2 separate regions of the Homo sapiens genome follow, and region 2 is linked to region 1. Evidence: promoter capture Hi-C in 16 types of primary human blood cells and fetal thymus (Javierre and others, 2016). All regions are on one chromosome and are shown on one strand. Each heading gives the region's core, a stretch centred on a gene start or on the middle of the fragment in contact. The rest is flanking DNA. Distances are from core to core; before and after follow the strand shown.

Region 1 (4,222 bases), core at 312-2,811:
CAACTGCACTCCAGCTTAGGCAGTAGAGCCAGACCTTGTCTCACAAAAAAAAGCGGGGAGGTGGGGGGGCGCATAAATGAATCTTAAAAGCAATATGCTTAAGTGAAAGAAGTCCCACAAAGGCATTTCTCATAGAGGCTGAGAGGTCCGAGGTTGAGGGGCTGCATCTGGTGAAAACCCTCTTGCTGGTGGGGACTCTGTTGAGTCCTGAAGCCGTGTAGGGCATCACATCGCGAGGGGCCTGAGTGTGCTAGCTCAGGTCTCTCTTCTTCCTTTTATAAAGCCACCAGTCCCACTCCCACGGTAACCCATTAACCCATTAACCCCTGAGCCCATTAATCTATTAATTCATTTATGAGGACATTATGACAGAGCTCTCATGTCCCAATCACCTCTTCAAGGCCCCACCTCTCAATACTGCCACACTGAGGATTAAATTTCAACGCGGATTTTGGAGGAACAGATATTCAAACCACGGCAATTCCCTGTATATGAAATTCTGGAAAAGGCAAAACTATAGGGAGAGAAGACAGATCAGTGGTTGCTGATGCTGGGTGATGGGCGAAGTTGATTAAGAGGCTGGAGCAGTTTTATGGAGGGACGGAACTGTCTTAGATCTTGATTGTGGTGGTGATCATACAATATTGTACATTTGTTGAAATCTGTCAAAACAAAGCCTCTGATCTCATGGAGCTTTCGTTCCATTGAGGGGAGACAGAGTAAATAAAAATTAGGAGCCGGTCGTGGTGGCTCACGCCTGTAATCCCAACAATTTGGGAGGCCCAGGTGGGAGGATCACTTGAGCCCAGGAGCTTGAGACCAGCCTGGGCAACATAGCAAGGCCCTATCTCTACTAAAAATAATAAAAAAATTATTTAGGGTGGGGTGGGATGTGCCTGTAGTCCCAGCTACTCCAGAGGCTGAGACGGGAGGATCGCTCTAACCCAGGAGTTCAAGGCTGCAGTGAGCTATGATCATGCCATTGCATTCCAGCTTGGGCAACAGAGTGAGATCCTGTCTCAAAAAAACAAAACAAACAAGAACAACATCAAAAAACAAGAAAACAAAGAAAAACGAGCAATAATGGAACCAACATTTATTTAGAGGACAGAGCATTTCTCATGCATCCTGTCATCTCCTCAGGCGCTCTCATGACATAGGTGCTGTAGTCCGCACTTCACAGATGAGGCAACTTAACCCCAGAGAGGTTAAGTGACCTGTGGGAGGCCACACAGCCAGGGCGGAGGAGACAGAAACAGAATCCACGATATCCGACTGCAGAACTCCTGCTCCCACTCGTGACAATATACTGGTGGCCCAACGCCCTTTCCGGACACCAAAGTAACCCTCACTGAGAAGTGACGCCAAGCCACAGTTCTCACCCCAGCCGTGATTCTCGACAGTGGCCCAACAGGTGATCAACGGGAAAGCGGCAGTGCTTGCCACACACGGGAGGCCAGCAGGTGGCACCAGGGGGCCGCCCGGCTGCTCTCTTTGCGCCCTAGCCTGCCGTAGTTCCCAGCGTGCTCCGGAAGTGACGCGACCGATTCGCTGGGGCGCGTCTTTCCCACCACGAGGCCACCAGGGTGACTGCGGGATTCCGATCTGCGCCGGAGCTGCGATGCTAGAGCACTCTTGCCACCCCCACCCCACGGACGTGTTGCAGTGATATCAGAATTTTGCGTGCGGTTTACCCGTGTTTAACCTCTTTGCGTCTCGCTTCTGAATCGTATCCACTTGAGCATCACTAGACTGATCTATTTTAACACTGGTGGGGGGCAGCGAGGTCAGTTATGGGTCCTTCCTCCTTAAAGGGGTGGACAGTTGACTTTGGGCAAACCTCTTCGCCTCTGTGGGCAACAGTTTCCCCTTCTGCAAAATGAGGGTTTGGATTGTAGTTTCTAAGTTTAGCTGTGGCGTGCGAATTCCCAGGAGGTAGTTCTTTAAAAATTCAGGTGCTCAGGCGTGGAGTGCAGACCTCTGGGTTTTTGCAAGCTAGCCAGCTGATTCTGATGCACAGGTGGACGTGGGAGACCCTGGATCAGATTGTCCCTAGGGTCCCTTCCGGCTTTAACATCTTCTGTTTCCTTTCTAGGACATGGTTTTAAACTTTAAAATGAAAATGTGAAACTAGGAATGTTGCTGTGAGACCCCTTGGACAAACAGATTTTTGCACTGGGGATAGAACTTGAGCAATTTCTGTCTTGGCCTCGCCACTGACGTCCCTTCTTTCCTGTGGGGACAGGATGGACAGATTCCTGGTGAAAGGGGCTCAAGGGGGCCTTTTGAGGAAGCAGGAGGAGCAAGAGCCAACTGGAGAAGAGCCAGCTGTGTTGGGAGGAGACAAAGAAAGCACAAGGAAGAGGCCCAGGAGAGAGGCCCCAGGGAATGGAGGCCACTCAGCAGGCCCTAGCTGGCGGCACATTCGGGCTGAGGGCCTGGACTGCAGTTACACAGTCCTGTTTGGCAAAGCTGAGGCAGATGAGATTTTCCAAGAGTTGGAGAAAGAAGTAGAATATTTTACAGGTAAGCAGAGGGGTGTGTGTGTGTGTGTGTGTGCATTGAGGGCTTGTTTGGTGCAATTAATGATCGTATGTTTGGAGAAATCTGAACTCAGGATCCATTATTTACTGATGGGTTCACTAATGGATTCATCCAATATTCTCTGAGCACCTCTGGGCTAAGCCCCTTAGGTGCTTGGGACATAAACTTGAAAGAAACTGGATTGCCTGTCTACTAGGAGCTGACAGATGACTCGAGTGAATCTCTCCTTGGCTACTGATGAGTATCTTCTGGGAAAGTTTACAAAACAAAGTAAAAAAACGTGCTGGGTTCTACTGCAGAGCACTTCAATCAGAATCGCTCCGAGTGCAGGCTGACCACTTGTTTGTTTAAAAAGCTTCCAGGTGATTCTCATGGGCAGTCAGGGTTTGAGAATCACTGGTCTCATAGGAGAGATGGCAAATAACCAGGTAATTTCTCCACACCAGTGGTTCTCAGCATCACCTGGTGGACTTGCTGTTGGCAGGACTTGGATTGCTGGACCCTACCCCTGTGGTTTAGTTTAGTTTCTAAGGAGAGTCCAGGTGCTGCTGGTCTGGGGAGCACATGTTGAGAACCACACCTCTATCCTGTAATGAGGACACAAGGATCTGGCAGAGAGGCATAGAAAAGCCCACAGGAAGCTAGGCGTGGTGGCTCGCGCCTGTAATCCCAGCACTTTGGGAGCCCGAGACGGGCGAATCACTTGAGGTCAGGAGTTCGAGACCAGCTTGGCCAATATGGTGAAACCCTATCTCTACTAAAATACAACAACAACAACAAAAAATGAGCTGTGCGTAGTGGTGCATGCCTGTAGTCCCAGCTACTTGAGAGGCTGAGGCAGGACAATCACTTGAAACCGGGAGGCAGAGGTTGCAGTGAGCCGAGATCGCACCACTGCACTCCAGCCTGGGCAACAGAGTGAGACTGTGTCTCAAAACAAAACAAAACAAAAAACGAAAGCCCACAGGCCAGGCACGGTGGTACACACCTGTAATCCCAGCTACTCTGGAGGCTGAGGCAGGAGGATCACTTGAGGCCAGGAGTTCAAGTCCAGCCTGGGCAACATAGTGAGACCCCCTCGTCACTTTATTCTTTTATGCTTTGAGACAGGGTCTCGCTCTGTCACCTAGGCTGGAGGGCAGGGGCACGATCTTGGCTCACTGCAGCCTCGTCCGCCTGGGCTCAAGTGATTCTCCCACCTCAGCATCCTAAGTAACTGGGACCACAGATGTACACCACCAAGCCTGGATAATTTTTAAATTATCTGTAGGTCTCACTGTGTTACCCAGGCTGTTAATTGAACTCCTGGCCTTGAGTGATCCTCGCCTTGGCCTCCCAAAGTGCTGGGATTGCAAGCATGAGCCAGCGCGCCTGGCTCACCATCTCTTTAAAAAAAGAAATGCCCACAAGAGACCCCAGCAGTGTGAGCCCCATCTTTCATGGGGTCACATGCCCTTAGTCCCTACAGTTGACAAGCTATCCTAGCCTGTAAACTAACTTTATCGTGTTCCAATTTCAGCCTCTTTATTCTGCCCTTACTGTAGTTAAGGCAGTTAAGTTACAGTGTTCACTAAAAAAATGGCCCAGGACCATGTTTCTCTCCTTGTAGAACAAGAGTCACTGTTCTTACATGAACATTTGGGGCAGTTGGCTTGGTGCAGTGGTGCACACCTATAAT
Region 2 (4,454 bases), core at 66-2,565, 1.3 Mb after region 1:
AAGAAACAGGTCTATGTGGAACTTTAAATATACGCCACAATATAAGTAGATAGGCCCTAATGTATTGCAACTGTGTAAAAGGCAATATAGTTCTTTTATTGTAATTGTCTTTTTCTTACTATAGTTAAGAGCTTTGGTTTCTTAAATTAGTTCTGAATTTAAATCCCAGCTCTCCTTACTGGTTATGTGATTCTGGGTTAAGTTTCCTAGCATCATTGAATCTTAAGTTTCCTCATCTTTAAAGTGGGATTAAGAATAATACCTACCTCCAGCCTGGGCAACATAGGGAGACCCCATCTCTGCAAAATAAAAACAAATTAGCCAGGCATGGTGGCACTTGCCTGTGGTCCCAGCTGCTTGGGGGCTGAGGTGGGAAGATCTCATGAGCCTAGGAGGTAGAGGCAGCAGTCAGCTGTGATCACGCCACTGCACTCCAGCTTGCAGCTACTGAGCAAGACCCTGTCTCAAAAACAAAAAAAAAAAAAAAAAAAAAAAGAAGATTAAGAGAGATAGTTACATATAAATCACTTAGCCCAATACATAGCACATGGTAAGGGAGCCATAAATTTTAGCTATTATTATTTTCAGGTTGATTGATAAAATGGCATTGCCATTTTTCAGAATTAAAAACCTATTTAGATTTGATTTCACTGCTAAGGAATATGTAACCTCATTTGATTCCTCTTCTCTGCTTCACCCCCTCCCATACGCAGAGAATAAAGCCCAGTGTAAGGACTGGAGGTCATTAGAGAGCCCCTTTTGGGTAACCTGTTGGCTAGCCTAGTGGTTCTGTAATGTTTATAGTATGGCAGTCTCTAAATTATGATATAAGAACTAATACTTTTTGATAACAACCTTCAGTGCTGTTTTATTCAAATCAGTATTACTCTTATTCGAAAGACATTTGTAATGGCAGTGCAAGATGGTTTGCATAGAAAAGGTGATTCCTAGGTTCTTCACCTTGCCAAAAATAGTCTGTAGTTAAAAAAAAAGTTTGGTGCAGTTAAAAAAAAGTTTGGTGCAATGAAAAACTTTTTGGCAGTGTTTTGCAGTTTGATCTGTGATCTTTCACTTAATAGCTATGTGATTTGGGGCATATGACATGGCCTCTCTGAGCCATAGTTCCCTCATCTATCTTACGTTGCAGTATTGGTGTGAGGATTTGAAGTCATTTTAAGTGAAGTGGTAGCAAAGCTTACATAATGACCCTCAATATTTGGAGGACATTAATATACTGATACAGAATCTTAGTAAACTGTTGCTGAATGGGGAAAATACGATGCTTTTCACATCATCGATAATCTGGATCTTTAACTCCTATTAAAAATGATTAGTAAAATTTACTTGAGTAGGTTAAAATGCGCTGCCTAAAACACTACTGGTTTGAAATAATAAGCCATTTGGAGAAAAATAAATATTATAAAAGATGAAGCTTGAGTGATTTAAAAAAAAACTGTCATTGCCATTGTGCTCTAAGAATTGCAGACTTTGCTTTAGATGGTGTGCCTAGAGTTTCGAACAAGGCAGAATTCAAATCCTATTTCTGCTATGTGACATTGAATTGAGTTTTTAATGTCTCAATCTCAGTTTTCTTATCAGTAGAAAGAATATGGCACTAGCTATCTAAGAGAATTGTTGAGCGTAAAAGTGAACTAATAGTTGGCCAAGTCCCATTTCCCCATCCCCACTGTTTCAGTTTCTTCAGTATCTTAATACAGAGTCATTGGAGTAAATTTTTGCATAACTAGTTGTGTGTGCTCTTTTCTAGGATGAATGAAATGAACCTGAGTCCAGTGGGGATGGAGCAGCTGACTTCATCCTCTGTGAGCAATGCCTTGCCAGTCTCAGGAAGTCACCTGGGATTGGCTGCCTCACCCACTCACAGTGCCATCCCTGCCCCAGGTGAGTGGTAAGGGAGACCTACTGCATTTCAACACTTAACTCTGTTATCAATTCTAAATGGAGTCTAGAAGAGATCAGAGCCCCTTTAAGGGTAGAAGGTAGAAGGGAGAAGGTAAGCAGGCCTGAATGGTGGTTCAACATGTGATAGGTAATGGAAAATAAGGTTTTTGTAGAGGTAGAGTATTAGAATTCTAGTGGATAGTAGCAGCAATTTTTTCTGATAGTCCTCTTCTGAGTTGGTAGCTTTTTGTCCAGAGCTGTAATTAACTTGGCATTTTATTTAGGGCTGCCCATTCATCTGGTTCACACTTCAGTACCCGTTCCCTGGGTTAATAGAAGAGAATCAGTTAAAATTACTCTAATAACTATTCCCAGAGAGCATGGGGAATTGGGCTTTATATTCCACCAGGTTTGAAATTAAATGGCAATAACTGCAAGTGTACCAGGTCTAGAATTAATGTGGAAAGAAGTGTGGTACTTTTACCTGGGGCTTTTACATGGAACGCCTCATGAGCCTCCATACACAGCAAAATCGTATAGGAAAAATTCATTCTTCCTATCCTTTTTTTTTTGAAATGGAGTCTCACTCTGTCATCCAGGCTGGAGTGCAGGGGCACGATCTCGGCTCACTGCAACCTCCGCCTCCCGGGTTCAAGTGATTCTCCTGCTTCAGCCTCCTGAGTAGCTAGGATTATAGGCATGCACCCCTACACCTGGCTCATTTTCTTTTTTTTCTTTTTTGAGATGGAGTTTCGCTCTTGTCGACCAAGGTGGAGTGCAATGGCACGATCTCGGCTCACTGCAACCTCCGCCCGCCTCCCGGGTTCAAGCAATTCTCCTGCCTCAGCATCCCGAGTAGCTGAGACTACAGGCACACGCCACCATGCTCAACTAATTTTTTGTATTTTTAGTAGAAACGGGGTTTCACCATATTAGCCAGGCTGGTCTCGAACTCCTGCCCTCAGGTGATCCGCCCTCCTCGGCCTCCCAGAGTGCTGGGATTTTAGGTGTGAGCCACCGCGCCAGCCGTCACTGTACTTTTAAAACCTTTTTTCTGCCTAGCTTCATTTTCTTATTCTATTGAAATAGAATATAAATGGAATAAATATTCTATTGATTATTACAATGATAAGCTGTCAGTTCTTTAGGATCAATGACATTGTTATGTATTGGACTTTCTTTGTCACAGTAGGAGTTAGTATAAATAAATCTATATATTGTTTAAATAGTTCTCTAAAGAGAATTACTTGCTTAATTAATAAAATGCAGCAGTTAAATAAGATTCATTGAAACTAGGGTCTCTTCACATTTGTTTAAGTGTCCACAAAAGAAATCTTAAAAAATTATTAGTGGTTAACCCACTTGATTGTTTGTAGGCATTCCCTTTAGTGGACACTCTTGTTAAGGTGGAAAAGCCTGTTAAAAAATATTGCCAGCCAGGCACAGTGGCTCACGCCTATAATCCCAGCATTTTGAGAGGCCAAGGCAGGAGGATCACTTGAGCCCAGGAGTTCAAGATCAGCCTAGGTAACATAAGGAGACCCCATCTCTACAAAGAAAAAAAAAAAAATTAGCAGCGCATGGTGGCACACACCCGTAGTCCCAGCTACGTAGGAGCTACATAGGAGGCTGAGAAGGGATGGCCACTTGAGCCAGGAAAGCTCAGGTTGCCTGAGCCATGGTCATGCTACTACGCTCCAACCTGGGCAACATAGCAAAACCTTGTCTCAAAAAAAAAAAATATTGCCCCTGGCAAAAATATGCAAATCAGCACTGACCAAGTTGGTGGGTATTTATTATGATACTTAGCCCAGTAAAAGTCACTTCACTTTGCAAGTACATATAACTCAAAGTAGATATAATCTCACGTTTAAAGCTTTTATTAATCACTAAGTGTAGCATATATACAAAAGATTGTATGAAGGTGTACATGTACAGTTTTACATCTAACTAAACTACGTTGTTTTCCAGGTAGAAATGAAATATTCTCACCATATAAAATGGTAAATACAATAAAGTTTAAAAATACCAAAAAAATTTCATACTATCACTACCTAGGGACTACTCCTATGAACATTTTATGTTTCCATTGTTTTTTTCTCTATATAATTTGTTTTCTTGTATTTAAACTCGGTTTTTAATTCTAAATTAAATATTTTGGCTGGGCATGGTGGCAATCCCCGCACTTTGGGAGGCTGAGGTGGGCAGATCACTTGAGGCCAGGAGTTCGAGACCAGCCTGGCCAACATGGTGAAACCCTGTCTCTAGCAAAAATACAAAAATTAGCTGGGTGTGGTGGTGTGTGCCTGTAATCCCAGCTACTCAGGAGGCTGAGGTAGGAGAATTGCTTGAACCCAGGAGGCCGAGATTGCAGTGAGCTGAGATCACACCACTGCACTCCAGCCTGGGCAACAAAGCAAGACTCCGTCTCAAATCAATCGATAAATTAATTAATTAAATATTTTTGTATTTAAGCGCAATACAGACAATTGGAGTATCAACTTGCCGGTTTAGAACTAACTTAAAAACTATCTTTGGGACTAAGACTACTT

The links. The method cuts DNA at HindIII sites, captures the fragments that hold promoters and counts their contacts. A CHiCAGO score of 5 or more calls a contact.
Region 2: a fragment that was not itself captured here is called in contact with the fragment with the promoter of ALKBH2 in region 1 in 1 of 17 cell types (total CD8 T cells); the score reaches 5.1 in total CD8 T cells.

What each region holds. Positions count from the first base shown.
Region 1 is chr12:109,090,811-109,095,032 of GRCh38, reverse strand. It overlaps ALKBH2 (alkB homolog 2, alpha-ketoglutarate dependent dioxygenase), which reads left to right and starts at 1,561. Exons shown (of 4, transcript NM_001145374.2): 1 at 1,561-1,786; 2 at 2,096-2,526. The coding sequence starts at 2,247. The HindIII fragment of the contact is 3,285 bases long and covers 1-2,901 here.
Region 2 is chr12:107,754,280-107,758,733 of GRCh38, reverse strand. It overlaps PRDM4 (PR/SET domain 4), which reads left to right. Exons shown (of 12, transcript NM_012406.4): 3 at 1,769-1,902. PRDM4-AS1 (PRDM4 antisense RNA 1) reads right to left here. Exons shown (of 5, transcript NR_120474.1): 4 at 342-459. Among named protein-coding and RNA genes, the nearest start is that of PRDM4, 4.6 kb to the left of the region's middle. The HindIII fragment of the contact is 238 bases long and covers 1,197-1,434 here.